Linked DNA regions of Homo sapiens: region 2 is linked to region 1. Evidence: promoter capture Hi-C in 16 types of primary human blood cells and fetal thymus (Javierre and others, 2016). All regions are on one chromosome and are shown on one strand. The core of a region is centred on a gene start or on the middle of the fragment in contact, and the rest is flanking DNA. Distances in the headings are between cores, read along the strand shown.

Evidence for each region. Contacts are between HindIII fragments. The CHiCAGO score rates a contact against its expected background, and 5 or more counts as called.
Region 2: a fragment that was not itself captured here is called in contact with the fragment with the promoter of COL27A1 in region 1 in 1 of 17 cell types (M1 macrophages); the score reaches 5.4 in M1 macrophages.

What each region holds. Positions count from the first base shown.
Region 1 is chr9:114,154,169-114,159,108 of GRCh38, forward strand. COL27A1 (collagen type XXVII alpha 1 chain) reads left to right here and starts at 1,369. Exons shown (of 61, transcript NM_032888.4): 1 at 1,369-1,844. The coding sequence starts at 1,783. LOC105376225 (a long non-coding RNA gene) reads right to left here and starts at 100. Exons shown (of 5, transcript XR_930256.3): 1 at 1-100. RefSeq lists silencers at 1,234-1,353, 2,241-2,535. The HindIII fragment of the contact is 6,106 bases long and covers 1-4,940 here.
Region 2 is chr9:113,788,065-113,792,547 of GRCh38, forward strand. No RefSeq gene overlaps it. Among named protein-coding and RNA genes, the nearest start is that of ZNF618, 86 kb to the right of the region's middle. RefSeq lists a silencer at 4,104-4,314. The HindIII fragment of the contact is 598 bases long and covers 2,672-3,269 here.

The sequences.
Region 1 (4,940 bases), core at 119-2,618:
GCGCAGGCGGACCGGGTCGGCGGCGCAGTCCCGCGCGCCCATGCCCCTCCCGGTGCCGCTGCGCTCCGCGCGCCCGCGCCCCGTTTAGGGAAGGGGACCTCGCCCCCCGCCCCCGCGCCCACGGCTGCGGGGACCCATGAATACAAATGCCGTTAGGCGCCGGAGGAAGGACCGACCGGCCAGCCTCGCACGTAGGGACCCAGTAAGTGCTTGGGGGCTCCTGGAGCGGTGCGAAGTGTTATATGCCTGTGTGTGCGCGCGCCTAAAGGTGTGCGCGTATGGGGAGGTGGGTACACGCGTGAGGAGTGAATGCGTGTGTGCACATGTGCGGTGGGCACTCTCGGAGAACTGTGTGCAAGTGAGGGTGTGCGCGCGTGTGTCCACCCGGGGTGTGTACATGTGTGGGGGCGATATGGCCAGGATAGCGTGCATTTGTGCCTGTGTAAGCATCCGTGTGCATGCTTCTGCGAGTGTAGAGTATCAGCGTGCGCCTGAGCCCAGATATCTGAGGATGCGTTTCGTGTGAACCTAGGAAGGGTGCGTGGCTGTCCCAGAATGGGACCGTGTGTGAGCGTGTGTCTGAGTTTGGGGAAAGGGTGGATACGTGTGGGAGTGTGTGTGTGCACCGGTGAATAAGTGTAACTTTGCTCGTGAACGAGTGGCAAGAGGTGGTAGAGGCGGAGGGAGCTGTGGTCCCAGGGCTGGACTGGAGTTTTGGGTGTGAGAATTTGCCCGGGGGCCAAGGTGTGCAGCTCTTAGCTCCCGGATGGGATCCGAGGGAGTTTTTGTCGATTCTGGGGAGGTGCGTGGTTAGTGGTGGTGGTGGGGTGCGGTTAGATTCCAATTGCTGACAGAAGGGAGAGAGAGGGTGGCAAACCCTTAACAAGCCCACCCTATATGTTCTCCAGGGCGCTCCGAGTCTGGGAGCGCAAACTTTTGGTGGGCGGTGGGGATCACGATACTGGTTGTCGTGGGCGTCTGGACACCAAGTTCTGGTCCTAGCTCCGTCCCTGAAACTGTGGGTTTCTTCCAGGAGTAGAATTTGGCCCTTCTCCCCTACCCCAACCCCCCATTGGAGGACCCCCAGCCTCACCAGTCAGAAGTTCCTAATCTCAGAACGGTGATCAAATCACCGTGAAGCCCTGGGCAGCCCCTTCCTCTCTGTGAATCTGTTTCCCCATCTATACAAGGAGGAGGGGGGCGGGTGTCCCATCGGGGCTGTAGTGGGCCAGCTGAGGCTGTACCCTTGGCTCCGGCCGGCAGGGGGCAGCAGGGGGCAGCAGAGGGCGGCCGGGAGCGGGGAGGAGGGAAGGTGGAGAGCCACCGCGGGCCGAGACTTTAAATCGCCTTCATTTCCCCCAAATCCTTCCTTTTCCTCTCCTCCCCCAGGCCGGCGGGGAGGCAGCTTCCACCGCCCTCCGCGCGCCCTCACCCGGCCTTGCTCTGCCTCCGGGGACCGCCAGCAGCCCGCCTCCAAAAGTTTGATCATCTCTCTCTCTCTTTTTCTTGCTTCTTCTTCCTTTTTGGTGGAAGCAGAAAAGGACCGAGGCAGGGGCGAGCGCGGCGCCCGGACTCCTGGGACCATGGGCCTGGCGCGGGCGCCCGCGGGGCCCCAGCCGCGCTGCCTGCCTGCTCGGGCGCCCCTGGGCGCGGGGCTGCGCTGGGGGCGCGGGGGCCGCGCGCTCTAAGCCGGCCTGGCGCGGCGGGGCGGGGGGCTGGCGGCCCCATGGGGCGCGCCCACACTTGCCCCCCGGGCTCGGGAGCATGAAGTAGGGGCCTGCCATGGGAGCGGGATCGGCGCGGGGGGCCCGAGGCACAGCGGCGGCGGCGGCGGCGCGCGGGGGGTGAGTACGAACTCGGGGACGCCCCCTCCCTAGCTTCCTGCTGCTCCAATCTCGGGGAGGGCCGGGGTTCCCCGCCATGCGGTCGCTTCCAGCGGAACGTCAGCTTCCTGCCCCTTCCTGCGCCCCCGCGAGGCGGGACGCCAAGGGTTAATAGGGGCTGCGCCCCCGGCCGGGCGAGAGTTGGCGAACGCTGCCCGCCCTGCCGCGCCTGGCCCGGCTGCCCGATCCCGTTGGGGCGGGGGCAGAGCCAGCCCGGGGGTCGGGGGTGGGGGTGGGTGGTGGCGCCTGGAGCGGCCGGCGGGGTGCGGAGGGGGGCTTTTTGGATGCTTGGGGGAGGAGGGGGGTCTCCGTTTGGGGCCGTCTCGGTGTGTTCCGGTGTCTCAGTGTCTGCAGGTCCCAAGCCTGTACGTCTCCGTTTCTATCTGTTCTTGTGAAATTGTCCGCAAGTTTCTAGGTCACCAGGTCTCGGGTTCTGCTCCTGTCTCCGTGTCTGTGTGGCTCTGCACGTCCCCGCGTTTCTGGAAATCTCCGCGTGTTTGTGTTAGTCGGCCTGGGTCTGTGTGTCTGTGTTTCCTGCTTCTCGGTTCCTGTCCCTTTCACGTGTGTAAGAGAGAAAAAGTGAGAGCCAGCATGTCAGAGCAGAAAGGGCCCTGGGCGATCACTGTGCGGAACCCCTCAGTGTACAGATCGGGAGACAGGGCCGGAGAGGGGCAGGGACTCTCCCAGGAGCGGCTGCGCGGAGCTGGGGCCCAGAGGCTGGGATTCCCAGCGTGTGGAGTAGGAGTTGTAAGAGAGAGTGAGCCTGTGCTGGAGCCGGCGCAGCGTGTGGGTGTGTGTGGGAGCCAGCAGCATGCAAGCAGCCCGTTGGGGCCTGTGGACGGCGCTCCTCTCTTTCCATCCTGCCCCCAGGACACCAGGACACTCCCCAGAGGCTGTTAGGGCTGTAGCTGGGCCCTGCCCCCTTTGAGCTGGAGTCCGCGGGATGACACCCCCTCCTTTCTTCCCCATGTCTTGGAAAAAGCTGGCTGTTTGCGATTCCCCCGCCCCGCACCCCCTCACCACAACACACACACACACACACACACACACACATACGCGCGCGCGGCACCAGTGAGCACACTGCTGACTCATTTTCTCCAGAAGACCCTGCGCCAGGGTAGATGCCAGCAGTTGGGCAGAAAAGTGGTGCCAGGCGAGCACCCCATGGTGGGGCTCCAGCTGTGGGCAAGTGGGCAGTCAACACTGCTCGGAGGCCCAGTCTCTGCCTTCTCCTGCCTCCCTGCCTCCCTTGACATCACGTTGTCCTGCATCATGTGCGCTCTGGCGCCAGCATACCTCTGCTCTCCAGCATGCCTCTGCTCTCCAGCATGCCTCTGCTCCTGGACCCTTCTGGCCGGACCAAACTCCATGTCATGTCTATGGACACATCCCTGGCCTCTGCCTCCTTCTGTTTCCTCCCTGTACTCAGAACATTCTCCCTCTCCTGTGCCTCCACCAGCGCTGCGGACCCTCAGCAGCCAGCAGCCTCCTGGTGGTCTCTGTCCCTTTCTGAGCACACTCCCCTGTTCTTTGTTGGCATTTTCTCTCCTCCATCTCTGTCCAGGGACCCTCTTGATACCCACATGCCTGGCTTGGCTACGCAGAGTAACATATCCACTGGTGGTAGGGGACAGCAGTGAGACACTCACAGAATCATGTTGGTGGGAGGCAGGCGGCACCACAGGAGGGCCATGAGGCTTGCCATCAGGCAGGCTCGAGTTTGAATCCTAACTCTGCTGTGCCAGCTTGGGTGAGCCACTCTGCTGCTTGTTTTTCTCTTCCACAAAACCGGCACCTTATTCCTAGCTGGCTGGGTTTTGTGAAGATGAACAGGACCATGCTTGTAAAGGGCTTAGAACAGGGCCTGGCATGTAATAAGTGCTCAGTAAACGGCAGCTGGTATTTGTATTATTCCCTTCATGTTGAATGGGTGTGTGAGTCAATGGGAAAGTTCTGGGCTGCATCCTCTCCAGACGATGACCTGTCTGTGTTCCCATGGAGGACGTGGAAGCTGTGAAGAAAGCCCAGGCATAGCCGTCTGGGCACAGGGGGTCTGGCCAGTCCATGGAGGCAGGTGGGACAGGTCCACCCCACTTGATGAGCTGTAGTTCCAGCTAGCTCCCTTTTCAGCTTTTACCCCATGCGTGAACAGCCAAGCCTAGTGTCCACAGGGCCACTTTCCCTGTGTGTTTCTGTGGCCTGGGTCTCAGCTCAGAGCCCTCAGTGACTGTTGAAGCTGGTGTGGGTTTCTAAGATCCTGTGTGTTTCCAGGTAATAAGGATGGAAGAAAACTATCCAAGCAGTCTGCCGGTTCTGGCAGTGTGGTTACCCAGGAGTAGCCCCATTTGGTGCACTGGCAGAGGGCCTTTTGCAAGGGCATAGAAACACCTGGGTTTCCTCTTTGGAGGGCTGTGTGGCCAGACGATGTTTCCATGTGATGTTTCCTCGCGGCTCCCGTTTCGGCTGCCTCCTGGCCTCCCTGGCCTCTGTGCTCTGGTCTTCCTGACATTCTGGAGCCCTGGGTTTGCAGAGACAAGGCCCACAAGACAAGTGGTGAAAACAGAAGTCTGGAAGAACAAAGCCCTGAGCCAGCACAGGCACTAACCATGATTAGCAGTAGCCTAAACAGGATTGGAACGGGAGCAAAAGAATCGGCAGGGCCTCCCTCTGAGAGCCAACTTTCCAGGCCTGGAGCTGACTTAGATGGCTCGTTGGCTCCCTGGGTTGCATCTCTGTTCCTGCTGGTGAAGGCTGGGGCTCGGGTCTCTGGCAAGTAGGAAGTCCCTGCAAGTCTCCAATTTCTGCTCCATGGAGACAAGTCAAATGAAAAGGACTATCTGTTAAGTCATAGACTTGAAGCACTGTGTGACTTCGGGCAAGTAACTTGCCCTCTCTGGGCCTCAGTTACGCATCTTTTCAAAGAAGGGAGAGAGAGGACTAGAATCTGACCCCTAGATGATCTTAAATGGCCTTCTTCCACTCTGACATGCTCTATACTTGGGAAGTTTATGGGTCAAGTGCACACAGAATCCATTTCCAAGAGGGTCAGCTGCATTT
Region 2 (4,483 bases), core at 1,721-4,220, 360 kb before region 1:
ATCCTAATCCGCTCCATCACTGAGCAGCTGTGTGACCTTGGGCAGGTGACCTGACTCCTCGGCACTCATTTCTTTATCTGCCCCAACAGGGGAGCAGTAATTCCTACCTCTAGGCTAGTAGGTTTGGTTAAACAAGAGGATTCTGTAGAGTGCCTAGCTACGAGAGGGGATGACAGAAGTAGCAGCTGCCGTCTCGATGGCCAGGTAGGCCTGGGCAAGGACAGAGGGAAGAGAGGAGAACAGAAACACCAGAATCCCGGGGAGTGTCCCAGGAGAGGAGACAATGGGGTGCTGGCTAGGACCCCAACTCCCTCCTTCCCCAGGGATTCAAATTTCAAAGCTTCACAGGACAGAAAACCACAGCATTCCTACAAGTGCCAGTGGGCTCTGGGCCCTTGCTCAGGAGCAGAAACCTGGGTTTGGAAAAGATTCTCAATTGCCCAGCGATAACCCCAAATAATCTCTCTTGAAACCACATATCATTTTCCTCTTAAAGAAACGCAATCTCTAATTAGAGTTTCCTCTGAACGTTTTCTCTTTGAAAAAAATTAAAAATGTATAAACCCTCCTGTATCGTGTATGTATATTTCATTGCTGCATAATTGGGATCTTTGTCAGTAACTGGGGTAGCAAGCGACAGCCTTTTAATCGGCTACAGATGCTAATGTAGAGAGAGACATTTTCCTCCTCTTTGCTCAACTGTTCCAGCCAGAGACTAGAGTCCTCCCTAATAAGTATTTATGTCAAAATCTTTTTTGGGGAGTGGGGGGAGAGAGAGCAGCTGTAGCATAGTTGAAAGACGTGGCTCTGATTACAGTCGCCAGCCAAAGGGGGGGGATCACTTTTAGAGTGAAACAGTGTTAATCAAGTTAATCACAAAACCCGTGCTATAATTGCTTCTGCTCTCAGACAAAATTTTACTTTTATCTAAATTACTAAAGTGAGGAGAGAGCAATCCGCTCTAATTTAGCTTTTGAGCTAAGGAGAAAGCGTGTGTGGAAGGCTGGAGAGGTTTTTAAACATCAGGAGAACTCATGCCATGGAATTCAGCTCTCCTCCTCCTTCCCTCCCTCCCTCACTACCTCCTCCCACCCTCCCTTCCTTCCTTTGAGACAGCTTAGTCCGATGGTTGAAAACTTGGACTCCTGGATCTGCCACTTAAGGCTGCGTTAACAAGTTCCTTGGTCTCTCAGTGTCCTCAGTTTCTTCATCAGTGAAATGGGGATGATCTGCCTCAAGATTGTGAGGCAGATTAAACAAATTGACGAGGATGACATACTTGGCGTGTGCTTGGCGTGTGCATGTGCACACACGCATACACACCCCAATACTCAAGAAGTGTTAGTTGGTATTGTTAGCCCTCCATTTTTCCTTCCTCTCTTCCTTCCTTTGCCTCTGCCTCCTCTCCTTCCTCCAACCCCTCTCCCTTTCCCTTCTTTCCCTCCTCTCCTCTCTCTTCTCCTCCTCTCTCTTCCCCTCCTCCTTCTTCTTCTCTCTCCCCTCCTGTCTTCTGACTCCTACCTCCTGTTACTAAGCACTCACTCTGTATGAGGCATGACCTGTCTTCAGAGACTCACAGTCTGGTGCTCAATCAGTTCAAATACAAGCAGGGAATGAGTAAGGCCTCAGGATAACACAAAAAGAGCTATGGGCTTGGACCAGAGAGGACCCCTTCTTCCAGAGGCGACATCCAGAAAGGCTGCATGGAAAATGTGGTTTTGTAGCTGGGCGTTGAATGACACAGCTACAGTGACATAACATAGAGTTATGAGGGTGGGGGGAACTGGGACCAGATAGAAGGACCAGCATGAGCAAAGGTCTGGAGCGGGGAGTAGACAGTTTAGGGATGCTGTGGCAGGGCTGGGTGCCATCGGCTGGGACTCAGTCCTGATGACAGGCCCAAGCTATCATTCCTGCCCTGTGCAGCCCTCAAGTCTCATCCAAGTCAGCTCTGAACATGGGCAGAAGAGAAGTCTTACTTTCCTCAACCTCCAGGAGACCCCGGGTTGGATCTCGCAATGGCCACTCGTTGTGTATGGACACAATCGTGTCATCATCGGCTGTCATACCCCACCTCCCCTCCTCCAGCCTCACTTTCTCCTGCAGCAGAGCCTCTTGAGGTCTTCCAAATTCATGCTTAGTCCAACGAGGAGCGGATGCCATCCAACTTGCCCGGAAACACAGATTAGAGAAAACACACACAGTCAATTTAACTGGCAATTAAACAGGCTCCCCTATGTAATTAGCGTCAAGACAACTCACAATTACTACAGGGTGCACATTCGCAGCCGACGCTCCACATTTATATAGAGCGACAATTACTGGGCGCTAATATCTTAACAGGAAGAGAGGAAATTTGTGAAACCATTTCAAGGAGGCAGCCCATCTTGTCCCTTTGCACTGTAAATAACTCCTTTGTAAATGCAACTGTAAAATTAAAGAGGGAAGGCTTGAAATGATGCAGATGAGAAATATTTACTCTGTTGAAAGTAAGTGATTGCTATTTTGAGATGACTGATTTCAGGAGACTAACTAGTTGTGCCATATTAGTAATAACAAACACACATGCTGAAGGCTTCCCTTGTGCCAGGCCCATTATGGACTTTCTTGCATCTGGGTTTCACGATGACTGTCTCACAGAGACGGGGAACTGAGGTCAGGGAGGTGAAGAAGCTTCCCAAGGTCACACAGCTCACAAGGCAGGCAGCAGGGTATAAACCCGGGTCTGACCCCAAAACCGTCGTGCAAAATCCACCTTGCACATTGCTTCTGTCTGTGCCACCTGAAAGAGCTCTCACGTCCACTCCCAAAGACTAGCAAATGGGGGGAGGCAAAGGCTCAGAGAGGAAGGGGTTTGCCCCAGGTCTTGCAGCAAGTTCATGGCAGAGTGTGGCCAGGATCCCAGGTTGCTCATCATTGGCCCTCTCCTCTGTGCCCTAGAGTATGTACAGAAAATGATGCCTGTGGAAAGCTACCAATGAAGGTCCCTTCTGGTAAGACCATCTGCCCTAGATCTGCCTTGTAGGTCTGAGGTCCTTGTTCCCAGGAAGAGAGAGGCCTGGGGTGGCTTCAGGGTCAATAGATGCCACACAACATAAACAAGCAAAGAGAACATGTGAAACCAGCAAACATTGCACTGGTCACACAGTGAACATTTTCCTTTCTCTCCCCTTCTTTTAACCTTTAGAAATGCCCGCTGCAAGGAATAGCAACCATCCCGTAAATTAGGAACCCAGCAATTAGGAATACTTGGCCAGATATAATATACAAGCTTAGTTCATCAAAGGACTTTAGCAGTAAAATCTACCCACCCCAAAGCCTATGTCAAGTTGGTGAATGTATCAGTTAGCTACTGCTGTGTAACAAACCTCCTAAAAACTCAGGAGCTTAAAAACAATGATGTATTATCCCTTCCCCATCTACTGGTCAGCTGGGGCTTAATCTGGGCTGAGCTTTGCTGGGTGCCCCTTCTTCTTGCTGCAGGTCTGTGACTCAGCAGACAGCTCTGCTCCACGTGTCTCTCAGTCTTCTTGGACCAGCAGGTTGGCTGGGGCACAGTCCTTTCATGGATCTGGTAGAGGCTTAAGAGTGTAAGCAAGGCTGGGCACCGTGGCTCGCCTGAAATCCCAGCACTTTGGGAGGCTGTGGTGGGCAGATCACTGGAGGTTAGGAGTTCAAGACTGGCCCGGCCAACACGGTGAAACCCCGTCTCTACTAAAAATACAAAAACTAGCCAGGTGTGGTGGTGCACCCCTGTAATCCCAGCTACTTGGGAGGCTGAGGCAGGAGAATCACTTGAACCTGGGCGGCAGAGGTTGCAGTGAGCCGAGATCATGCCACTGCACTTCAGCCTGGGCAATGGAGCGAGACTCTGTCTCAAAAAAAAAAAAAAAGTATAAGCAGAAACATGCAAAAAAGGCCTGGGCTTGGGTCTGTCACTTCTGTCCACATGCCATTTGCCAAGTCACATGGCCAAGCCCAAGTCATATGGCAAGTGTGTGTATGCAGGGAGGGTTAAGAATTGGGAGACAAGGGCATTCAATTTACCGCAGTGGAATAAAACAGCAATGAAGTCATTTTCTTGTTTGAAAAAATCAGTATTTGATGGAGAAGGAGCTAGCAGCTGGGAAGATATGACTTAAAGTTTTAATGTATTACTCTGTAAAATGCAGATAATCACAAATAGCTCACAGGGCTGTTGTGAGGTTTAAATGAAATAATCCATCTAATTTACCCAGCACCAACCATGCCTGACAAGTCACAGGCACTCAATGACCACCCATCCCTAAGGCGACCGACTTGTGCCAGTTTACCCAGGACTGTCCATCCTGGGAACCCCCTCAGTCCCAGGCAAACCAAGACAGTTGGTCACCCTAACTATCCTCATCACTAAAATAATACGTGTGAGCTAATCTTTATTTGCCAGGCATACTGCCACGTATGTGGGGAAGATTCTCTCATTTACCCCTTACAACCACCGTAC